Regions from separate parts of the Homo sapiens genome. Here region 2 is linked to region 1. The links are contacts of gene promoters, found by promoter capture Hi-C in human tissues and cell types (Jung and others, 2019). All regions are on one chromosome and are shown on one strand. The core of a region is centred on a gene start or on the middle of the fragment in contact, and the rest is flanking DNA. Distances in the headings are between cores, read along the strand shown.

Region 1 (5,154 bases), core at 1,681-4,180:
AGCCACCTGTGATAGCTGCACAGTGAAGACAGCAAATGTCCACCTGCAGCAGGGTGGGTAAAGGGTGATGCATTCACTGCAGAAAGTCACCAGCAGTGTAGATCAGCCACTCCAGGCCCTCTGGGATCTGAAGAACTTTGCAGGCACAGGCCCCCTATAAATCCAGTAATAACCTGGGGCCTGAGTGATTTTCATTCACAGAGCCACCCTCCTCTTGGGGCTGAGACCCTGAGTGTTTTTTGCCCATAGAGTCATCCCCTTCTTGGTACTGAGAGGTCATGGTGGAGACTGAGGATCCCTCCAAGGGGTCTAGGGGTAGGAGCAGCTCTGTGAAGTGAGGGAATAACTGGGTGTCTGGCAAGAAGTCGGAGGCATCGGGGCTCTGAGGCCATAAGGGGGCTGGGGCTGGGAGTGATCCTGGGCCTGGGATTGGAGCTGGGACTGAGCCTGAGCCTGGGCCTGAGCCTGGGCCTAAAATCGGGGCTAGGCCTGGAAGTGAGCCAGGGCTTCGCATCCGGCCAGGACTTAAGATGGGACCTGGGCCTTGGAGTCTGCCTGGGCCTGGGATCTGGGCTGGGCTGGGAATCGGGCCTATAATTGGGCCTGGGCCTGAGATTGGGCCTGGGATTGGGCCTGGGATCAGGCCTGGGTTCGGGCCTGAGATTGGGCCTGGGATCGGGCCTGGGTTCGGGCCTGAGATTGGGCCTGGGATTGGGCCTGGGATCGGGCCTGGGTTTGGGCCTGAGATTGGGCCTGAGATTGGGCCTGGGATCGGGCCTGGGATCGGGACTGAGATTGGGCCTGGGATCGGGCCTGAGATTGGGCCTGGGATCGGGCCTGGGTTTGGGCCTGGGATCGGGCCTGGGTTTGGGCCTGAGAATGGGCCTGAGATTGGGCCTGGGATCGGGGCTGGGCCTGAAATTGGGCCTGGGATTGGGCCACGGAATGGGCCTGGGATCTGGACTGGGCCTGAAATTGGGCCTGGGATTGGGGCTGGGATCGGGCTTGGGATCTGAGCTGGGCCTGGAATTGGGCCTGGAATTGAGCCAGGGAGTGGGCCTGGGATCTGGGCTGGGCCTGGGATTGGGGCAGGGATCGGGCCAGGGCCTGGACTCAGGGCAGCTGGGATGCCCTTCTGGGCTCTGCACCCAGGGCCACCCCAGGCCTGGTGGAGGCTGCAGATCGTGGGTTCCGCCGCTGGAAGGATTCCCGAGGGGCCCCGCTGAGGTGCGGAGGCAGAGGCTGCAGGGACTAGGGGCGCAGCGCGGGCTCCTCGGCCTCTCTGCCCAGGGACGCGCTGGGGCTGCTGCTGGAGCCGCCGCTCCCGAGCTAGTTTGGCGCGGCGATTCTTGAACCACACCTGGGGGGCAGAGGGGACAGGGAGAAGGTGTGAAGGAGGGGCTCGCGCGGCCCAGTGAGCCTTTTGGGGTCGGGGCCAGCCTGAAGCCTCTCCCTGTGCTCAACAGCCCCCCATCCCCCACCCCACCAAAAGAGGGCCCCGGCTCCAAGGCCTGGAGAATGGAGGGAAGAGGGAGGGAAAAGTAGGGGGAGGAGGGTGGGGTGGGATGGGAGGAGCGGGGTCTGCCGCCCAGGTGCCCGGGGGGCCAGGGAGGGTTCGAGGGGAGGGACCGCGGGTTCTCACGGGTGCCTGAGGTCCGGGCACCGGGAGACCCCGTGGGGGACAGCCTGGGCCGATCATGTGGGCGAGTTTGGGCTAGCATAGAGTTGGAACAGGACTCAGGATGCAGCCCTGGTCTACACTGGCGGGACCCCTTGCGTGGCAGGGCGGGAGGTGGTCGGGCGGGCCAGGCCCCGGTGAGTGACAGCGGTGGGGAGGCTCCTTGGGGTGACTGGGGCGGGCAGGGTGGGGGTGGGGGTCAGACCTGCAGCTGTTGCTCCCTGAGGCTGAGCATCTCCGCCAGATTCAGTCGCTGGTCGTAGTTCGGGTACTGGTCCTTCTGAAAGTAAAATTCTAGCACTTTCTGCTGGCTTTCAGTGTAGACCGTGCGCTCCTGCCGCTGTCTCCTTGGAGGGTCCAGGGCCAGGGGAGGGCCTGGGGGTGGGAGGGAAACAGGTCACAGAAACCCCCAGGCAGCCCCCAGCCCCCCTAGGGACCCCGTCCCCTGCACCAGGCCAGGAGCCCAGGCAGTGTGGGCTGGGGCGGCACCGCGGATAGCAGCCTGGTATCCAGACCAGACCTTGCACCTCTCTGGGCCTCAGGGTCCACATCTAGGAAATAGGCGCGATAACAGCTCCTGGGAAGGCAGGCAGCGTAGGCGCCTCACCTCGGAGCAGACGGGGCTGCCTCAGGCCTGCTCAACCCTCCCCAGCTGCCCCGTCCCCTCCCATCCAAGGGTTATAGGGACCCTGACACTTGCAGGGGAGCCGCCACCTGCCCAGTCCTCTGCTCCACTCAACTGCATGGTTTAATTTCTTTCCTTCTTTCTTTTTCTTGGAGGGGATCTCGCTCTGTCACCCAGGCTGGAGTGCAGTGATGTGATCACGGCTCAAGTCAGCCTCCACTTCCTGGGCTCAAGGAACCCCCCGCCTTAGTCTCCCGAGTAGCTGGGACCACAGGTGTGCACCACGACCCCTGGGTAATTTTTGTATTTTTGCTAAAGACGGGTCTCCACTATGTTGGCTCGGCTGGTTTCAGAGTCCCGGGCTCAAGTGATCCTCCCACCTTGGCTTCCCAAAGAGCTGGGATCACAGGCGTGAGACGCTACACCCAGCTGCATGATTTTTCATTTCCCAGACACCACTAAGTTCTCCCCCGTCTGCAGGACAGGAAGCCGCCCGCACAGGCCCAGCCCTTCTCTGGCTGCCCAGATTTGCACTCTGCAGCCTCAGCCACAGGATCAGCCCAGACCCCTCACACCTCTGTCCCCGCTCACCTTGGAGATGACCAGGGTCTTGCATCCTGAGTCCTGATCTGTTCCCAAACACAAGTGTGTACTGACAAGGGCTTGGCTCTTAAATCACTTCTCTGCTGTGCCCACCCTGGCCCACCCTGCCGGGACCCTCCCTTTCCCACCCTGCCCTGCAGTCCCGCCCCCTGGAGGAGTTGAATGATGGATTAATCCTTCATCACTGATCAGGTACTGCCTGCTGAGCTGTGCTAGGAGCTGGAGAACCTCAGTGGACAACACAGCCTTGGTTTCACCCTCATGGGCCCTAGCCCAGGTGAGGTGGCATTCCATGCGGGTTTGGTTGGGGGAGTCAACATCGTGACCTGTGGTTGGGGTCCCCATCTCAGGAGAGGCACCGCCAGCCAGCCCCCAGGAGTCATCCTTGTTCCTTCCCAGGGCTGGGGCCCCGAGTGACCAATGCCGGTGAGTCTACCCACTCCTCCTGGCTCCTGGGCTGCCTGCCTTGTCCAGCCACTATCCCTCCTTCCTGGATGACCTTGCAACCTCCTCTTTGGTACCTCAAGGCCACTCTGGCCCCTACTATCCATTCCAAAAATTGCTCCCTAGGTGCCTATAGGTGTAAGCAGAGCTTAGTACACATTGGCCCTGCTGATAATGGTTTGGTTTCTGTAGTGGATTTGCCTATGGGGTGAAGTTCTGATAGGCATTCACATAGACCTCTGTTGGTTTCTCCTGGAGAGTAAATGACCTCAGTGCTGGTTTATTCCAGTTTATATACGGGGCTCGTGTGCTGGGTTCACATGAGCCCAGCCTCTCCAAGCTGCATAGACCTGTATCAGGAGGGGGCACAGGTCTGATGGACGTGCCCATGGACCGCTGCTGGTCTGCCCTTGTGAGTGAATGAACCTACTGCTGATGATACAGGGGACCCATGACCTTGGTCTACAGAGATCGGATCCCTCAGAGATGCGTCTTCTCTGTCAGACACCTGGCTGTCCTCATTTCCCCATGGCAGGACCCACGTGGGTTCAGGGATTAGAGAGATTGACAAGGCTCATGGTGCAGGGAACTAGAAATGACTCATGCAATCAATTTCAAAATTCAATAAAACGTAGACATTGTTACCACGGGCCTCGCTCATTGTTTTCACCTGCTACTTAGAGTTCTGCTGTAGAAAGCAGCATCCCCAGCAATGATTCCTCATCGCACACATTGTCCGGCTTCATCTACAGGACATGCTGGGAACACAGTAGTGACCACAGAGATTTTGCACCATGGCTATTTATTTGGTCAATAAAGACATAAACAGATGAACAAGCTCACTGGTACTATTTTGTGAAAATAGACATTTAAATATAAGCAAGTTCACGGCAGCATGATTCACTATCGCCCAAAAGGAGAAAATGCTGAAAACATCGATCCACTGATGCATGGATAAATAAAATGCTGCATGGCCAGGCGCGGTGGCTCACGCCTGTAATCCCAGCACTTTGGGAGGCTGAGGCAGGCAGATCACCTGAGGTCAGGAGTTTAAGACCAGCCTGGCCAACATGGCGAAACCCTGTCTACTAAAAATACAAAAATTAGCTGGGCGTGGTGGCCAGCACCTGAATTTCAGCTACTTGGGAGGCTGAGGCGGGGGAATTGGTTGAACCCGGGAGGCGGAGGCTACAGGGAGTGGAGATTGTGCCACTGTACTCCAGCCTGGGCAACAGAGTGAGACTCCATCTCAAAATAAATAAAAGTGGCTGGGCACGGTGGCTCACGCCTGTAATCCCAGCACTTTGGGAGGCTGAGGTGGACGAATCACTTGAGGTCAGGAGTTTGAGGCCAGCTTGGTCGACATGGTGAAAATCCGTCTCTACTAAAAATACAAAAAATTAGCCAAGCATGGTGGCGGGAGCCTGTAATCCCAGCTACTTGTTAGGCTGAGGTAGGAGAATCACTTGAACCCGGGAGGCAGAGGTTGCAGGGAGCTGAGATGGTGCCACTGAACTCCAGCCTGGGTGACAGAGGGAGACTCTGCCTCAAAAAACAAAACAACATCCCCCAAAAAAACCCACAAAAAATAGAAACCCAAAATGTCATATATTTACACAATGGGATATTACTCAACCATGAAAAGGAATAAAGCTCTGATACGTGCTACAACATGGATGAACCTTGCCAACATGATGCCGAGTGAAAGACGCCAGACTCAAAAGCACATATACGATTCTATTTATACAAAGTGTCCAGAATAGGCAAATCCATAGAGACAGAAAGCAGATTAGTGGTTGCTACG
Region 2 (5,154 bases), core at 1,801-4,300, 180 kb after region 1:
TCATGATAGGCCTGATTTCATGAATGGGGAGATACAGACGAGTGATTCCAACATAGCCTGTCTGCTAAGCACTATGATCTTAGAACAGGTATCACCAGGTAAGCATCAGAATGCAACATCCCCATATCATAAACACAGTGCACCATCCTCGGTGCTATAAAATTATGAGTCCCCACTCAAACGTCCCACTCTGATTAACACCAGAAATTCTGCCATCCACCTGGTGGATCATTTGTTGTGAATGTTGGGATGTTATGTTTCAAAAAATACCTTGCAAGTACAATGCAACTGCAAAGCAAGTGGACTACAAAATGAAGCCGGTCACTTTGTGAAAGATGCAAGAATGTATGAATTTAATGACAGTGATACAACAAAGTTAAAAAGAGCACATATTGTAACTCCATAAGGGCTTTGAAGAGAAATTTTTTTTTTTTTGACACGGAGTCTCACTCTGTCACCCAGGCTGGAGTGTAGTGGCACGATCTCGGCTCACTGCAACCTCTGCCTCCTGGGTTCCAGGGAGTCTTCTGCCTCTGCCTCCCAAGTAGCTGGGACTACAGGTGTGCACCACCACCTGTATTTTTACTTGGCTAATTCTTGTATTTTTAGTAGAGACAGGGTTTTGCCATGTTGGTCAGGCTGGTCCCAAACTCCTGACCTCAGGTGATCCACCCACCTCGGCCTCCCAAAGTGCTGGGATTACAGGTGTAAGCCACCATGCCTGGCTTGAAGAAAAAAAAAAAAATATATATATATATATAATATAAATATATATAATATGTATATTATACATAAAATATAAATATATATATTATATATTTTTAAATTCAAAGGATTAAGAAGGGCCCCTAAAAATTAATATAGTCCTAGAATTAGTCTTAGAATACTTATACAAAACTGGCTTTCTTTATGACCCTTTGAGGAAAGTGTAGAATGGAAGAAGACAAAGCTATGCACTGGAAAATCGTAACAATTTTGTCAGGAAAGTCCTGCATCCCAATTCTTTTCATTCTCAAGAATTCACCTTTGGTCATAATTCAAGCTAAATTCTGTTATAATATATAAGGTTTTAAAAATACCCTTATTTGAAATAAAAATGAGTCTCATTTTTTCAGTTAAACCCAAATCGAAATTGTTTTATGCAGCCATAACAAAGAACAAAATCATGTCCTTTTTAGCAACATGGATGCAGCTGGAGGCCATTAGCCTAAGCAAATTAGTGCAGAAACAGAAAACCAAATACCACATGTTCTCACTTATAAGTGGGAACTAAACATTGGGTGCACAGGGACACAAAGATGGGAACAATAGGCACTGGGGATTACAAAAGTGGGGAGGTAAGGAGGGGACCCAGGCTTGGAAACCAACTATTGATGGCCGGGTGCAGTGGCTCATGCCTGTAATCCCAGCACTTTGGGAAGCTGAGGTGGACTGATCATGAGGTCAGGAGTTCAAGACCAGCCTGGCCAACATGATGAAATCCCGTCTCTACTAAAAATTAGCCGGACATGGTGGTGGGCGCCTGTAATCCCAGCTACTCAGGAGGCTGAGGCAGGAGAATCGCTTGAACCTGGGAGGCAGAGGTTGCAGTGAGCCAAGATCGCACCACTGCACTCCAGTCTGGGCAATACAAGACTCTGTCTGAAAAAAAAAAAAAAAGAAAGAAAAAGAAAAAGAAAACTGCCTACTGGGCACTATGTTCATTATTTGGGTAATGGCTTCAATTGAATCCCAAACCTCACCATTTATGCAACATACTCATGTAACAAATCTGCACATGTACCTCCTGCATCTAAAATAAAATTTTTTAAAAGAAAAATCTTTTGAAAGAAGCCAGAGGGGGAAAAATACCTTACCTACAGAGAAGCAAAGATAAGAATTATGTCCAACTTCTTTCCAGAAACCATGAAGATAAGAATGAAGCATTTACAGTGTTGAGAGAAAAAAAAGTCTTCAATCTAGAATTCTGTACCCTGCAAAATTATTCTTCAGAAGTGAAGGAGAAAGAAAGACAAAGATTCTCAGACAAACAAACATTGAGGGAATTTGCTACCAGAAAACCTGCCTTGAAAGAAATGTTAAAAGTTCTTCAGAGATATAAAGAGAGGAAGCACATTAGAAAAAGAGTAAGTAGGCCCGGCATGGTGGCTCACACCTGTAATCCCAGCACTATGGGAGGCCGAGGCGGGCAGATCACCTGAGGTCAGGAGTTCGAGACCAGCCTGGCCAACATGGTGAAACCCTGTCTCTACTAAAAATACAAAAATTAGCTGGGCATGGTGGTGTGCGCCTATAATCCCAGCTACTGAGGCAGCTGAGGCAGGAGAATCACTTGAACCTGGGACGTGGAGGTTGCAGTGAGCTGAGATCACACCACTACACTCCAGCCTGAGTGACAGGGCAAGACTTTGTCTAGAAAAAAAAAAAAGGAAAAGAATAAGTGAATGTAAATAAAATGAAAGCATGTGAAATGTGTTCAGGAGCTTATGAAGTCCCCTGAACCCGATCACTTTTCCAGAGGATGAGCAGTGAATTTCAGCATCGTCAACAGCATATATTGGCATTCTTGCAGTTGCCCGCAGGAGGATATAGTTTATCAGACTTTATTCTTCCAAGCTACGGAGCCCCAGAGGAGGGAGGAGTCTGGGGAAGCTGGTCGAACAGACTAGGGAAAAAAAGCTGCAGTGGCCTCCCTATCGTGGGGAATTGCTGTAGCCTGCTACATGGTAGTCCTACGATCCTAACTTGGCCAAGATTCTTGTTTGGGTTCAAGAGCTGGGTCAGGAGTCTTCCCAAAGTGCTGCACTTGCTGTTCCATTCTATGTTCAATGGAATACAGCACAAGATAGAAGACAAAACTTACGAATCTAGAGAATGTCAGAAGGCCTGGAAGAGCACTGGTGAAGAGCAATAACAATGAATGGGGAGGAGTTGGGGTCCTTGGGTACCAAACCATGGGAGGCTCATCCCCCAGACAGGAGAGCCGCGTGGCCTCTGTGATTGCTTCTTCCTTGGTTTTGTGCTGTAGAATTTTACTGGTCAGGCATGGTGATTTACGCTTGTAATCCCAGCACTTTTGGAGGCTGAGCCAGGAGGACTGCTTGAACCCAGGAGTTCGAGACCAGCCTGGGCAACATAGCAAGACCCCATCTCTGCAATAAATAAAGACACAAAAATTAGCTGGGCATGGTGGCGTGCACCTGTAGTCCCAGCTACTTGGGAGGCTGAGGCAAGAGGATCACTTGAGCCTGGGAGGTCAAGACTGCAGTGAGCCGTGATTGTGCCACTGCACTCCAGCCTGGGTGACAGAATGAGACCCTATCTAAAAATAAAATAAAATAAAATAAAAATAAAAAAAATCTAGACAAAGTACCATAGACTGTTTGGTCTAGAGCAATAGACATTTATTGTCTCACAGATCTGGAGGCCAGAAGGCCAAAATGCCAGGGTTGGTTCCTTCTTAGGAGCTCAGAGGCAGAAACTATTCCATGCCTCTCTCCTTGCTTTTGGTGGCTGCTGGCAAGCTGTGGCATTCTGTGACTTGTGGCAGCATCACTTTAATCTTTTCTTGTGACTATGCGTGCTTGTCTTCCCTGTGTGTGTCTGTTTCCTCTTCTTATAAAGATACCAGTCATTGGATTAGGGCCAACCCGTATCCATTGTGACTACATCTTAATTACCGACATCTGCAAGGACCTATTTCAAATACAGTCATATTCACAGATCTCTGGTAAACATGAATTCTGGAAGGACACTATGCAATGCAACCCCAGACAGTGAGGATGAAGACGAAGAATTTGAGTGTCACTAGACAATCCAGTTTGTGGAGGCTAAAACACCTCTGTCTTGGGTGCTAATTCGCCGTGTTGGTTTCTGATTAACCCCGTCCTCGGAATGTCCCTACAATTTCTATTTTATCTACTGTTCTTTGTGTAAGAACACGTACTACATGTACTTAGTACTTACTTTTTTTTTTTTTTTTTGGAGACAGAATCTCACTCTGTCACCCAGGTTGGAGTACAGTGGCGCTGTCATAGCTCACTGCAGGCTTGACTTCCCAGGCTCAAGTGATTCTCTTGCCTCAGCCTCCCAAGTAGCTGGAACTACAGGCACACACTACCATAGCTGGCTAATTTTCAAAAGTTGCTGTAGAGACTAGGTCCCACTATGTTTCCCAGGCTGGTCTCGAATTCCTGGGCTCAAGCAATCCTCCCACCTTGAACTATGCATGGCCAGAGCTTGTCTTTACTATTGATCCTGCCCTTAGGTCAAAACAACCTTGATCAAAGAACCTTTAGGCAGGGCTGGGTGTGGTGGCTCACAGCACTTTGGAAGGCGGAGGTGGGCAGATCGCTTGAGCTCAGGAGTTTGAGACCTGCCTGGGCAACTTGGCGAAATCTTATCTCTACCAAAATTACAAAAAAATTAGCTGGGCATGGTGGTGTGCTCCTGTGGTTCCCGTACTGGGAGGCTGAGTTGGAGGATTAATTACTTCAGTCCCGGGAGGCGGAGGTTGCAGTGTGCTGAGATCACACCACTGCACTCCAGCCTGGGTGACAGAGTGAGCCCTTGTCTCAAAAACAAATAAAATAAAATAAAAATAAAAATTACAAAATCAGAAAAATTTTAAAAATTAAAAAAAGAGAAAATCCTGCCGTTTTCAGTAACATGGATGAACCTGGAGGACATTATGCTAAGTGAACCAAACCATTCACAGAAGGACAAATATTGCACGATTCCACTTGTATGAGAAGTTTAAAGTAGTTAAACTCACTCTGTGAGTATCGACTACTAAATCCAAACCCTTATCCTGCCTCTTTAATACTGTAATAGTACTTTTGGTACTATAATAGTAGTAATAATGACTTAATGATAACAGTTCTGTTCTGAGCGTCACGCATGCTAACCCATTTAATCTTCCAGCAACCCTGGGAGTCAGCAAGAATCACGATCCTCCTGTTTCAGATGTGGGAACTCACAGACATCCAGGACTCAAAGTCTTGCTTGAGGCCACAGGCTAAGCTTGGTTGGAACCCGGAGATGCTGGAGGGAAAACTGGTCTCCTGAGCTTGCCAGGAGCAGAGTTGAGTGGGACAGAGGAGGCGAGAGGAGCCTTCAGTTCTTGGTGAGTGGGGGTGCATGAGAGCTCTTAGC

The links. Contacts are between HindIII fragments. The study calls those that stand out against the background at their distance.
Region 2: a fragment that was not itself captured here is called in contact with the fragment with the promoter of TPRX1 in region 1 in 3 of the 25 tissues and cell types used here (dorsolateral prefrontal cortex, lymphoblastoid cells and mesenchymal stem cells).

Annotation. Positions count from the first base shown.
Region 1 is chr19:47,801,621-47,806,774 of GRCh38, forward strand. It overlaps TPRX1 (tetrapeptide repeat homeobox 1), which reads right to left and starts at 2,931. Exons shown (of 3, transcript NM_001397346.1): 1 at 2,895-2,931; 2 at 1,884-2,053; 3 at 1-1,360. The coding sequence starts at 2,919. The coding sequence ends at 155. The HindIII fragment of the contact is 58,136 bases long and covers 1-5,154 here.
Region 2 is chr19:47,983,420-47,988,573 of GRCh38, forward strand. The region is part of intron 1 of BSPH1 (binder of sperm protein homolog 1); the gene reads right to left. Among named protein-coding and RNA genes, the nearest start is that of BSPH1, 6.2 kb to the right of the region's middle. The HindIII fragment of the contact is 7,096 bases long and covers 1-5,154 here.